Regions from separate parts of the Homo sapiens genome. Here region 2 is linked to region 1. The links are contacts of gene promoters, found by promoter capture Hi-C in blood cells and fetal thymus (Javierre and others, 2016). All regions are on one chromosome and are shown on one strand. Each heading gives the region's core, a stretch centred on a gene start or on the middle of the fragment in contact. The rest is flanking DNA. Distances are from core to core; before and after follow the strand shown.

Evidence for each region. Contacts are between HindIII fragments. The CHiCAGO score rates a contact against its expected background, and 5 or more counts as called.
Region 2: a contact is called between a fragment that was not itself captured here and the fragment with the promoter of P2RY12 in region 1, in 1 of 17 cell types (megakaryocytes). The highest score is 7.8, in megakaryocytes.

What each region holds. Positions count from the first base shown.
Region 1 is chr3:151,381,079-151,387,448 of GRCh38, reverse strand. P2RY12 (purinergic receptor P2Y12) reads left to right here and starts at 2,696. Exons shown (of 3, transcript NM_022788.5): 1 at 2,696-2,757. It overlaps MED12L (mediator complex subunit 12L), which reads right to left. Exons shown (of 45, transcript NM_001393769.1): 33 at 4,704-4,793; 34 at 3,561-3,670; 35 at 3,231-3,366; 36 at 2,258-2,419. The HindIII fragment of the contact is 1,524 bases long and covers 1,987-3,510 here.
Region 2 is chr3:151,841,836-151,847,739 of GRCh38, reverse strand. All of the region lies in intron 1 of AADACL2-AS1 (AADACL2 antisense RNA 1), which reads left to right. Among named protein-coding and RNA genes, the nearest start is that of SUCNR1, 29 kb to the left of the region's middle. The HindIII fragment of the contact is 273 bases long and covers 2,515-2,787 here.

The sequences.
Region 1 (6,370 bases), core at 1,447-3,946:
ATCTCTGTAATCTATTTATAATTTTGAAGATAATATCAAATTTAAGAGTCAAGTTATAGTCAACCTGTAATTGGGTTAGTATTAACTTCAATCCAAATCTGCATGAACTTGGTTCAATATGTGGGCCCTGTACTTAATAAGCCATACTCTGAATATAATATTATTATTAGAGAATTAAATTGTAGCAGCAGGAATAAGTAAAGTCTTTCAACTCAAGCTTATATTTACTGACTCTAGAAAAAAAAAAACGGTTACCCTCTTTTTATTCTTAACATTAATTGGTGACATCTCTTGGCACTTGCCTTAAAATGTCAATTTAAAAATATTTTTCCTTAAATGGCCCCCAAATAACTACTCAGTCATTCCCTAAGATGTAAGTGTTACTGTTGTTATCTATATGCATTCTTTTATGAGTAGCTTCATCTAAAACTAAGGTTCAGGCCAGGCACAGTGGCTCGTGTCTGTAATCCCAACACTTGGTGAGGCTGAGGCGGGTGGGATCACCTGAGGTAAGGACTTTGAGACCAGCCTGGCCAACATGGTGAAACCCCGTCTCTACTAAGAATACAAAAAAAGGCTAGGTGTGGTGGCTCACACCTGTAATCTCAGCAATTTGGGAGGCTGAGGCAGGTGGATCACGAGGTCAGGAGTTCAAGACCAGCCTGGCCAAGATGGTGAAACTCCGTCTCCACTAAAAATACAAAAATTAGCCAGGCATGATGGCAGGCACCTGTAATCTCAGCTACTCAGGAGGCTGAGGCAGAGAATTGCTTGAACCCGGGAGGTGGAGGTTGCAGTGAGCCGAGATCACGCCACTGCACTCCAGCCTGGGTGACAGAGCAAGACTCTGTCTTGAAAAAAAAAAAAAAACAAAGACAAAAACAAAAAAAAATTAGCTGGGCCTGGTGGTGCATGTCTGTAATCCCAGGTACTCAGGAGGCTGAGACAGGAGAATCGTTTGAACCCGAGAGACAGAGGTTGCAGTGAGCAAAGATCGCACTACTGCACTCCAGCCTGGGCGACAGAGCGAGATTCCATCTCAAAAAATATAAATAAACAAAGTAAAACAAAATAAAACCAAGGTTCAATTGCCACCTGTAAATTGACTGTTTCCTAATATTTGTCTTGAGATGAGAACTTTTTCCTTGGTGTAAAAACCACACATCCAAATGGATTCCAGATGTCTTACTACCAGGAAGTCCGCTGACACTGCAAACTCAAACTTGACCATGACTTTAGCTTTTTTTCTTTACACAAACTGGTATTAGATTCTCAGGCTACTCTAAATTCCCTGGTAAATCTGATTCTTTCATGTCTTCATATAAACTCTCCCTTTATTTGTACCACAATTTTCCCTACCTCCCAGCTAACTCTTAATCCTTCAAAATGACTCGTGTCAATTTTCCTGGGGACCCTCTATTCTATCCCCTAATACTCTCTCTGTACCATGTCACACAAATCTCATTACACTGTAATTGTCTGTCTACTTCCCCCTTGAGGGTAGGAACTCTGTCTTTCATCTTGGTGATTGTGGAATGTCGGTGGTTGCTTACTGTTCATTAAAAGAGTAACTGACCAATTTTCTCATATTTTAGAGAACCATCTTTAATATCTTATATAAAACAAATGTCCATTAAATACTGCTTGATAGGAATAGAGAATATCCTAACAATTAAAATAATTTTTATTTGAAATAGCTTACTACAGGAAGGTTTTTTTTTTTTTTTCCCCCCCCAGAGACAGGGTCTCACTTTGTTGCCCAGGCTAGGGTGTAGTGGCTATTCACAGGCATGAGCCTAGCACATTGCAGCCTTAAACTCCTGGCTTCAAGCAATCCTCCTGCCTCAGCCTCCCAAGTAGCTGGAACTAAAGACATGTGCCACCATGCTCAGCTTACAAGAAATTTTTCATTGATAAATATATTCTGCTTCTAAATCTGAAGTATAATCAGAACTTATTTATGCAATTTTTTTTTTACACTAAGCTTTTACTTAGTTTTCTCTTGGTAGGTTTCCAAAAATTTACTTAAATTCAGGGAAACATTTTAAGTCCTTTAAACATATAAAACGTAGATCTTCAAAGATATGACCTCTTTATATGATAATGCCAATGACTAAGTACACTTAGAAGACAAGCATATGCCTTAAAAACATCAACAGCAAAATTAATATATTTTATATATCCTATGGTAAGACAAAAAAAAGTATTTCATCTTTTGTAAATAAATTTATATATAAGAAAAAACATTCACTCTTGCCTGTTTTTTATCTATAGAGTCAAATCCAGCAATTTTGTTTCCTTTTGTGTCAATCAAGGAACCCATAGGTTCACAAGTGATGACATCACATGTCTGTTTCGGCAAAGGTAGTAACTGTCGAACTTTGTCAATACTTTCTGATCGCTTGTCTCCTAGCTCTTTCTAAAGAAAAAAGAGAGAGAGAGAGAGTGAGAAGTGGGACAGAAATTACAATGAAGGCAAAAGTTAACCAGAAGGAAGTTCCCCTATGAAACATTTCCCTTTTTATAGCTTAGCGCATGTTCTTTAACCCTGAACATGTTCTACAAGGCAGTTCCAAATAGAGCAATGAGTGTTTCATTTCTTCTATTTAAGTAGAAAATAGAACACATACAAAGGCACTGTTGTTACACAACAAACATCATAGTGCTGAAATGACAAAAATCCAGGGTAGTGATCACAATCAGAAGACAGGAGCTGCAGAACAGAACACTTTCTCATGTCCAGGGTCAGATTACAAGGTAACCATTGATTTATTTGATTGGTAATGCATCAGATTTATTTGGTTTCTTTTTTGCACTGTTTTCTTACAATTTTTTTTTAAAGGAGTCTGTTAGTGGTCGGTCAAATGAATCGATTTATAAATTTCAATGCAGATGGCTATTTTTTCAATTACACGTGCCAGTCCAAGCATAGAGTTATCCTAAATCTATCTAATGTTAGTATTCTGGTTATATATTTAACAGTGGATTTCTAAAGTTCTTTAAAAAATTAAACATGTTTTATAATGTAATTGTTTTCAATAAAAAATAATCAAGGTTATGTGCATGTAACTTCTGGGTACTAATAAGGTTAGGTGAAACAAATAGCAAATAATCACATTAAATTAAGTTGAATACAATTAATAACATTTAATGAGTAATAAATTAAAATGCACTAGATAATAAATCCATAAACAACTTGAGCTCATAATACAGGCTGATCTCAAACTTACTTTCAGTTTCTTTACTAAATTCATGTATGCACGCTTGTTCTCTTCAGATCCCCCAGGGGATGCATTTGATAGGTCAGAGGCTAACGTTCCATTGATTAAAACACCCAGCATGTCAAGAACTGTTGTGAATAATTCACTAAGAAAGAAAATAATTATTTTCATCTTAAAGTGAAACTGAAATACACTTATTTAACTGAGTATTTTTATTCAAGGCACAGAATTTTTAATAGCATCCAAGTAAATAAGATGTGGCAGAAATCGCCATCAGTATATCAAAGCTTATACCATGCATACATGTAGCAAAATCAATGTGAAGTGATAAAAACATACTTGTTAGTGTGCATGTCAACAGTTCCTGAAGTAATGATCTGAAGGAGTAGCAGGGCCCAGTCTGTAGTCCACTGGGTGCTCCTCTGCACCGTGTCAAACATTCCTCCTACCTAGCAGACAAAATACAGTAAGATATTTGCATTCTGTAAAACAGAAAGAACACCCCATTGCTTTATGTTATCAAATTTTGATTGTTTTTTATTTAAAAAAACAAGGGATGCTCTAGTTTATAGATTACCTTATCTTTTCTCTTTTACCTACATGTTTATCACTATTTTTAGTTCTTTCAGCACAGTTCAGTCATTCAAACATTAACTAAAATGAAGAAGGGACGTGAGTATCTGAATGTGGGCACCAATAAACTTAGCTTTCTTTTGTTCCAAATCTTTTATGATGTCCAGTTTTATGATGCAATTATAGTTGAATTAAACCTGAATAATGTCAAAGTCATGTAATCCAATTATCTGCATCTTTGTGTTTGCTGTACAATTACTATTGAATCTAAGCCTGCTATCATAATACCATATGGAAACATCCACTATCACAGCAGTGGTGGGCAGGAGGCTTGGCCCGCACACCTACCAGTTCACGTGTTGGGACAAGGTTAGAAACAACTGCAAAAGTATCAGGCAGGCCATCCTCCAGAGGGGCCTGCACTTGGGCCTGCCTGATGGGAAAAGAAAACTCAAGGAATGCACAATATGTGAGACATTTTAAATTTCTATAAAACTTCTCTGTGGGATTTGTCTTTATAATCAATTTGATGGAAAGTTGGACAAAACTTTGAGTTAAAAGACTTTTTAAATGGTTTTAAGTAAGTATAGTAGAAGCTAACACTTATAACAGTCTTCTCAGATTTATTCTTAGCACAAACTGAAGAGAAGGAGAGATTCACTGGGGTAGAGGTAGAGAAGGCAAATCTATGCTTAAAATACCTAGCACTGTCTAGATGTCTGACCAGACAGGAAGGAAAGCAGCAAGGGAAACAGAAGGCTTTAGAAACAGGGAAGTAATTACAGAGAGCAAAGAGTGGAAGGCCTCACCTTGTAATGCAGACTTTGCACTTAGGAGAAGTGGAAAGCTGGAGGTATTTTCACATGTAAATATGTTTAATGGAGGGAAAATACTAGAAATGTCACTTACCAAATTTAGGCGGAGTTGCAATGCTTCGTGCATCATCTGCCGCGCTTTTATGTCATCTTGGTATCGTTCTTCTCTCCAGTTACTTAAAATCTAAGATCCGGAAAAAAACTCCCCATTAAAGTTTAATTTTTCTCTCATTTAAAGATAAATTGAGCTTTATACTGATAGCAAAAAACCACTTCTTATCTTTAACAAATTAACAAACAAAGCTAAATAAAATTTTAGCTTTCTTCTTCCTCCATGCAGAAAGAAATCTGGCTATTTATTTGTGCATTTGCCGTTCTAGGTGGAGGAAGAAAATCTTATATAATTATATAGCTAGCCTATGATTAAGTCTGGGAAAATGCTTGAGAGGGCCATCAAATTAAGCATTAATAAAAACTTTTAAAATACATTACCTCATTGATCTTACGAAGAAAAACACTGGAGAGAGAGAATTACATTTTGCCTCAGTCCTGTTATATTTCTAGGGACTTGCTGAACCCTAGCAAATGTATTATTTTGATGTTTTATAGAAGAGAAGGTCTGCTATCTTATGTATGTGTCTTCCTTGATAAAGAGAACGCACGGTACTTTGAAAAATATGGCATTGCAGACATCAGCCAAGTGGCTTTATCAGTTTATAAAGTGGGCTGCTTCTTCACTTCCTCACTGACTCACACTAATGCTGGAAAAGGAAAAATTTGCTTAGGAAAGGGAGCCACAAGTGGGCAACACCCTAAAATCAGATGAGATGAGCAAAAAAAAAGTGCAATTCAAAACAAAAACAAAAAACCACTAACAAAAACCCTATCATGCTCTGAAATATGGTCATTAATGAGAGTCATCTTAAAAGAGTTCAAATGAGTCACATGCAGAAGTACTCCATCCCAACAGATGACCTGTAAGTACCCTGCAAGGTGAGAGGAAAGCACTTCCCAAATCTCATCAGAAGAAATGAACCCCTCCCTAAGGCTGGCTTAAGGGGGCAAGGTAGTTAACTAAACAACAAGCTCTCATGGAGCTCAAATAATAGTAGTGGGACAAATAAAACTAAGTGTAACAAGTGGTTTGAGGCATGGCAATGGCATACAGAATGGCTGTGGTCCTATTTTTAGAGGTGATCAAAGGCCTCCCGAAGGAGGTAACATCTTAACAGAGAACTGAATGAAGGGAGCAGGCCATGCTAATCTCTGGAAGGGAATCTTTCCACCTAAAGGGAAGAAAAGATGCACAGGCACTGAAATGAGAATTTGCTCAGCAAGTTCAAGAACAGTAACATGGCCAGTGCAACAACCATGGAGGAAAGAGGGCCATGACTGGTAGGAGACAAGGTAGGAGAGAGAGCCAGTGTCAAATCATGTCTGGCCTTATCAGCCCGAATTTTTTATACTAGGTATACTGAGGTAATATGTGACTTCCATTTAAAAAGGTTCACTATGATTGCTATATCTAGATCTCTCCTACCCAAAAGGTGAGAAATGACAAGAGGATCAAATAAGATTAAGTGTCCTTGTCCATGTCCATCTAGTACCATTCGAGGGAAAGACATGGTGTCATAGAAACACAGTGCCACAAGAAGGGGTCAATTAGGCTGTGTATCAGGATAAAACACCTCATAAGACCAATCTATCCACTTTGCTTAATTCCATGCTCTCCAATTTCTGTTGTGAATGCTCAGTTTCCTT
Region 2 (5,904 bases), core at 1,402-3,901, 460 kb before region 1:
TAGCCCAGACAATCCTAAGCAAAAACAACAAAGCTGAAGGCCTCATGCTACCAGACTTCAAACTGTACTACAAGGCTACAGTAACCAAAACAACATGGTACTGCTACCGAAACAGACATATAGACCAATGGAACACAACAGAGACCTCAGAAATAACACCACACATCTACAACCGTCTGATCTTCGACAAACCTGACAAGAACAAGTAATGGGGAAAAGATTCCCTATTTAATACATGGTGCTGGGAAACATGGCTAGCCATATGCAGAAAACTGAAACTGGATCCCTTCTTTAGACCTTATACAAAACTTAACTCAAGATGGATTAAAGACTTAAATGTAAAACCCAAAACCATGAAAACCCTAGATGAAAACCTAGGCAATACCATTCAGGACATATGCATGGGCAAAGACTTCATGACAAAAAGCAATGGCAACAAAAGCCAAAATTGACAAATGGGATCTAGCTAAACTAAAGAACTTCTGCACAGCAAAATAAACTATCATCAGAGTGAATGACAACCTAAAGAACAGGAGAAAATTTTTGCAATCTACCCACCTGACAAAGGTCTAATATTCAGAATCTACAAAGAACTTAAACAAATTTACAGGAAAAAAAACAACCCCATCAAAAAGTAGGCAAAGGATGTGAATAGACACTTCTCAAAAGAAGACATTTATACAGCCAATAAACATAAAAAAAAGCTCAACATCACTCATCATTAGAGAAGTGCAAATCAAAACCACAATGAGATACTATCTCATGCCAGTCAGAATGGCGATTATTAAAAAGGTCAAGAAACAATAGATGCTGGTGATGCTGTGGAGAAATAGAGACGCTTTTACACTTGGTGGGGATGTAAATTAGTTCAACCATTGTTGAAGACAGTGGGGCGATTCCTCAAGGATCTAGAACCAGAAATACCATTTGACCCGGCGATCCCATTCCTGGGTATATACCCAAAGGATTATAAATCATTCTACTATAAAGACACATGCACATGAATGTTTACTGCGGCACTATTTACAATAACAAAGACATGGAACCAACCCAAATGCCCATCAATGATAGACTGGATAAAGAAAATGTGGTAATATACACCATGGAATACTATGCAGCCCTAAAAACGAATGAGTTCATGTCCTTTGCAGGGACAAGGATGAAGCTAGAAGCCATCATCCTCAGCAAACTAACACAGGAACAGAAAACCAAACACCACACGTTCTCACTCATAAGTGGGAGTCGAACAATGAGAACACATGGACACAGGGAAGGTAACAACACACACTTGGGCCAGTCAGGGGCTTGGGGGCGAAGGGAGGGAGAACGTTAGGACAAATAGCTAATGCACGTGGGGCTTAAAACCTAGATGATGGCTTGATAGGTGCAGCAAACCACTCTGGCACATGTATACCTATGTAACAAACCTGCATGTTCTGCACTTGTATCCCAGAAGTTAAAGTAAAAGAAAAAAGAAAAAAAGAAATATATCTTAAGGAATAGAATTCAGTATGTAATCTGACAAGAATTTTACTTGTAAAGTGAGATAAGAAAACATACATGATTATGTTAACATACTATTTGAAAAAACTAGAAAGTGAAATTTGGTTCTACCTGTGAATATGCAAAGAATACTTTGGATGATGTACTTATCTACCTCAAGAAACCCGAAGTTTTTGGAGGAAAATGTTCAAGAAATCTCAGTCACACTTAAGAGATCCTGCTAACCCACAGGGTGTGCTGAGCAAGTAAGCCCTTATTGTGCAGGATGTTTAGGGGTGGGCTCTCATGGTTTGACCTCTGAATTAAATAATCTGGTTTGGAAAAGTAAGCCTAGATATTAGATTTCTCTTTGGAAATTTCAAACGGGGTAACTGAGAAAATGAGGCATCATCAAGAGCAGAAGTCAAAGCATGTATCAAGATTTCTGTGAGGTAAAGGGTGTTGCTGTGTCATTTATTCCATTTTAAATCAGAAATCCAGAGCAAGGTAGAGGAATCACCCTCTAGGAGATAGGAGCTTGGGTCCCTGGTAGCTGTTACCTTCACTTTTCCATGAGCTGTGGCTCTAGGCAGTTTCTGCCTTTGGTTTTTCTATGAGCTGTTTTTCCATATTTTAGAAATTGCTCTCCCATATTCCTTCAAATCCCCACTAAACTGCTTTATTATTTAGATGATTAAACGTGTTTCTTTTACTTAAAAACAAGAGTCCCAACTAAACAGAAAGGACGAAAACTGATTAATCATTATTCACTTGAAGTGCTTAACACATAATAGCAGATTAAATATTGACTACAAAAATAAATAAATTATAAAATGGAACTTTAGTAATTGATTAAAATTCTAATGAGAAAATAATTCACCATTTCAGACATGCCTTTTAAAGCAATAAAAATACAGAGAATGATTAACTTTGATTTATATCTTACTCAGTAATAAATTATAGCTAAGTTAAAAAGATAAACATTTTAAAAGTATTTGTTAGATCTGCTTTTATAAAACAACTCTAAAAGCTTTAGTCTCTACATTGACTATAAGTTGCTATTATATGACATAGTTATGCTAGTTTTAATACTAACATAAAATTAAATAAATTAATTAAATAAATAAATTCTCTGAGGACCGATATAAATTTTATTAAATGGAATCAGGATAAAGCAATGACTTTCTCCATTCTTCCTTTGAGGGAGGGAGTACATTTCTATACAAAATACTGTCATATTTGTAAAAATTCTACACATTGGATTTTAAAATGTAAAGTTAATCTCCTAAATATATTTTCAAAGCTTGTTTTCATTAGAGATTCAATATACTGTTATGCAAAAAACAAGATATATATTCTCTTTAATATAATCAACATAATTGTTTGGGAAGTCTTTAATAGTGTTCGGTTCAAATATAGTCACTTCCTATTTATTTATTCATAAATGAATTCAGCAATTATTTAGTTTCTAATACAAAACATTATAATAGGTACTACAGGGAAATATGAAATAAAAAATAATTTTTTAAATAATTTTTTAAAAAAGGACAAAAATTGAGTGTTGCAACAATGAAATAAAGTTCTTATTGAGAAAGTAAAGAGAAAATGTTTTGGGGTTGAGCCTTAGAGAATGAAAAGAATTCTATTCAGACAAGTGGTGTTAACTGATGTGGTTTGGGCATAGTTGGTTCGGTTAAGTTTTATCATTTGTTTGTAGAAATTGAATTATATGTTGATCAATGGCAAACTTTGGAGGCAAACAAAATTGGATCTTAAATGCTCAATAATTAATACAACTGGGAAGAAAACAAGCAAACAAAATAAACATAACTGACCTCAGCCTAGTATTGGATGGAAGTAAACCTGAAAACAACAGCAAATTCCAAACTATATTTTTGTCAAATTTCATAGTTTTATTTATACCCAATAAGTTGCTCTTACTCTAATATAGTAGCCAGTGTACATTTAACAGCCTCTTAACTTGAAGGAAACATGGTGAGAGAATTGTATATCAGGAGAAAGGAATGATACGGACAGATGGAGAGCTGAGTCTGTGGATAATGAAACCTATTATGCCTCCAGCAGACTTCACTCCAACCTTGGGGAGGCCTGATGGGATATTCTGGGTTGTCTTGGAGCTTGACATAAAATTGATATTTTTCTGAAGTGCCTGGAAATGTACGAATCTAAAACATTATCAATCCTGACTTTTTTATTACCAAACTCGAATCTTGCATTTCCTTTTTACAATTACCTTTCAACCAATGTGAAATACATCAAGAAGAAACTCTTATTTGATTATTTCAAGTTTTTAGTATTCTGTAACACTTGCTGTTATCCTTTATAAAAGATATGTGAGGCCTTAGGCTCAGAGTTTTGATAGGCAAGAGTATTCAGATAGTATGTACTAGTATTTTATTTCTATTACATTCATGACAGGAGACACTACTTTCCTATTTATGATATAACATAAAGTTGGCTTCTTAAGAACAAATGTATTTAATTTTATAATAATTAATAGAAAACATTAAGAAAATTAATAGTATGGATGACACCTAGATATGGCAAAATCACAAGGCTAGTACACTAATTAGTAAAGTGTTGAGACACTGCTCTGAGGTGAGGGAGAATATCAGAGGGTGTGCTGTAGGTTTCACAGAATTCAGTCAGCCAGAAGTCGTGGCACAATTATGATAGAACCCTTCTCTCTGTATACCTTCAGCTCAGTTTATCTCTAAGTCAGTGTTAGGCAATTGTGAACATGATAGATAGTTTTAGGAAGGCAAAGCCAGCTGTTGCTTTTAATCTTGTGTACTATGAAAGCAGAGGGAGAAATGTTTGCTTTCTCTTTTATTTGTGTTAACATCATAATAAAACACATGGCCTGTTCTTTTGTTTATTTTTGACCTTTTCTGCAAAGTTGTGAAAGCTGGTGATTTTTCCATTATTGGCAAGAGAGAAAGGGGCAGATCTAACTTAGATGGGCAGTTTTGGTGTTTATCTGGGTTTTTGTTTTTATTTTCGGTGTGTTTGATCAGAAATGAATATATGGGGCCATAAAGAGTCTAAAATTTTTAAGGACTGATTCATAAAGAAATATGATTTTTTTAAAAAATTAAAGTTATAATTTTAATATTAAAACATATCCCCTCTGTTATATGTCTAGAAATAACACATATATGCTAAAAAGAAAGAAGTTAATTATAGGATAATGATGTATTTTATGACAAATGCTTATTCAGTTATGAATTTTAAATTAGTTTTTTTAATGAAAAAGTATAATCATTAAATATTTTGGTAACAAATTCATGATTGTCTGTATTATACTCAACATATCAGATCAAATTAAATAAAACTCAAATAATTAGATCACAAAAGTAGCATCGATATAGTAATTAAGTGTTGGTAACTGGCTGTGCCTGGTGACTCAAGCCTGTAATCCCTCTACTTTGGGAGGCAGAGTCGGGAGGATCCCTTGAGCCCAGGAGTTCAAGACCAGCCTGGGAACATGGCAAAACCCTGGTCTCTACAGAAAATAGCAAAGTTAGCCTGGCATGGTGGCACACGCCTGTAGTCCCAGCCACTCCAGAGGCTGATACGGGAGAATCACCTGAGCCTGGGGAGGATAAGGCTGAGCCATAATTGCACTGCTGCACTCTAGCCAGGATGACAGAGTGAGACCCTGTCTCAAAACAAAAACAAACCCAGAAAACAAAAAATAAAATGAAAAACCCCCAAAACAAACAAAAAATAAATATTGGTAACTAATTATATTGGCTCCCAAAAATAAGAATTCTGTATTTGACAATTTTTGAATTCTGCTTTTTTTTTTTAGTGATCTTTACAAATTTGTGGGCTTTGAACTATTTGTTAGCAGAGACAGAGTTTGAACCCATGATTGTTATTAGTAGATGATCTTAGTAATTATTTGATTAAAATAAACACACATTAGAAGCTCAACAGATATTAGTCTTTCTACTTGCCATCTATTTCCTTCTGCTTTGAGTTATTACAATTGATTAGTCCAAATACTCTGAACCATCTTTACGTTTGGAGTATGTTCATTCTGCAACTGATCAGCAATCTATCTTTCTTTTGATAAATTGCTCTTAATAATGTTCAGTCCATTCATTAATAACTTCATTTTTGCATAGGTTCAATTATTTTGAAACCACAAGGGAGCGACTTTTGTGTTTGTGGAGTGTATTTCCTTGAAATGTTTAACATTCTTTGCTTCTGTATCATTGATGTCACGAATCCTTTTAATGTTTTGACTTTTCTTTTCTCTCGGAGTTTATGACATCTCTTCTGTTACATGCTGACAAAGAGCACTATAGATTAACATCATTTTGTTAGAAATTTTAGCAAGCTCTTCCTGGAGGTTTTCCTTCACAAACACTGTTACTGCTTGGGTTTAGACGT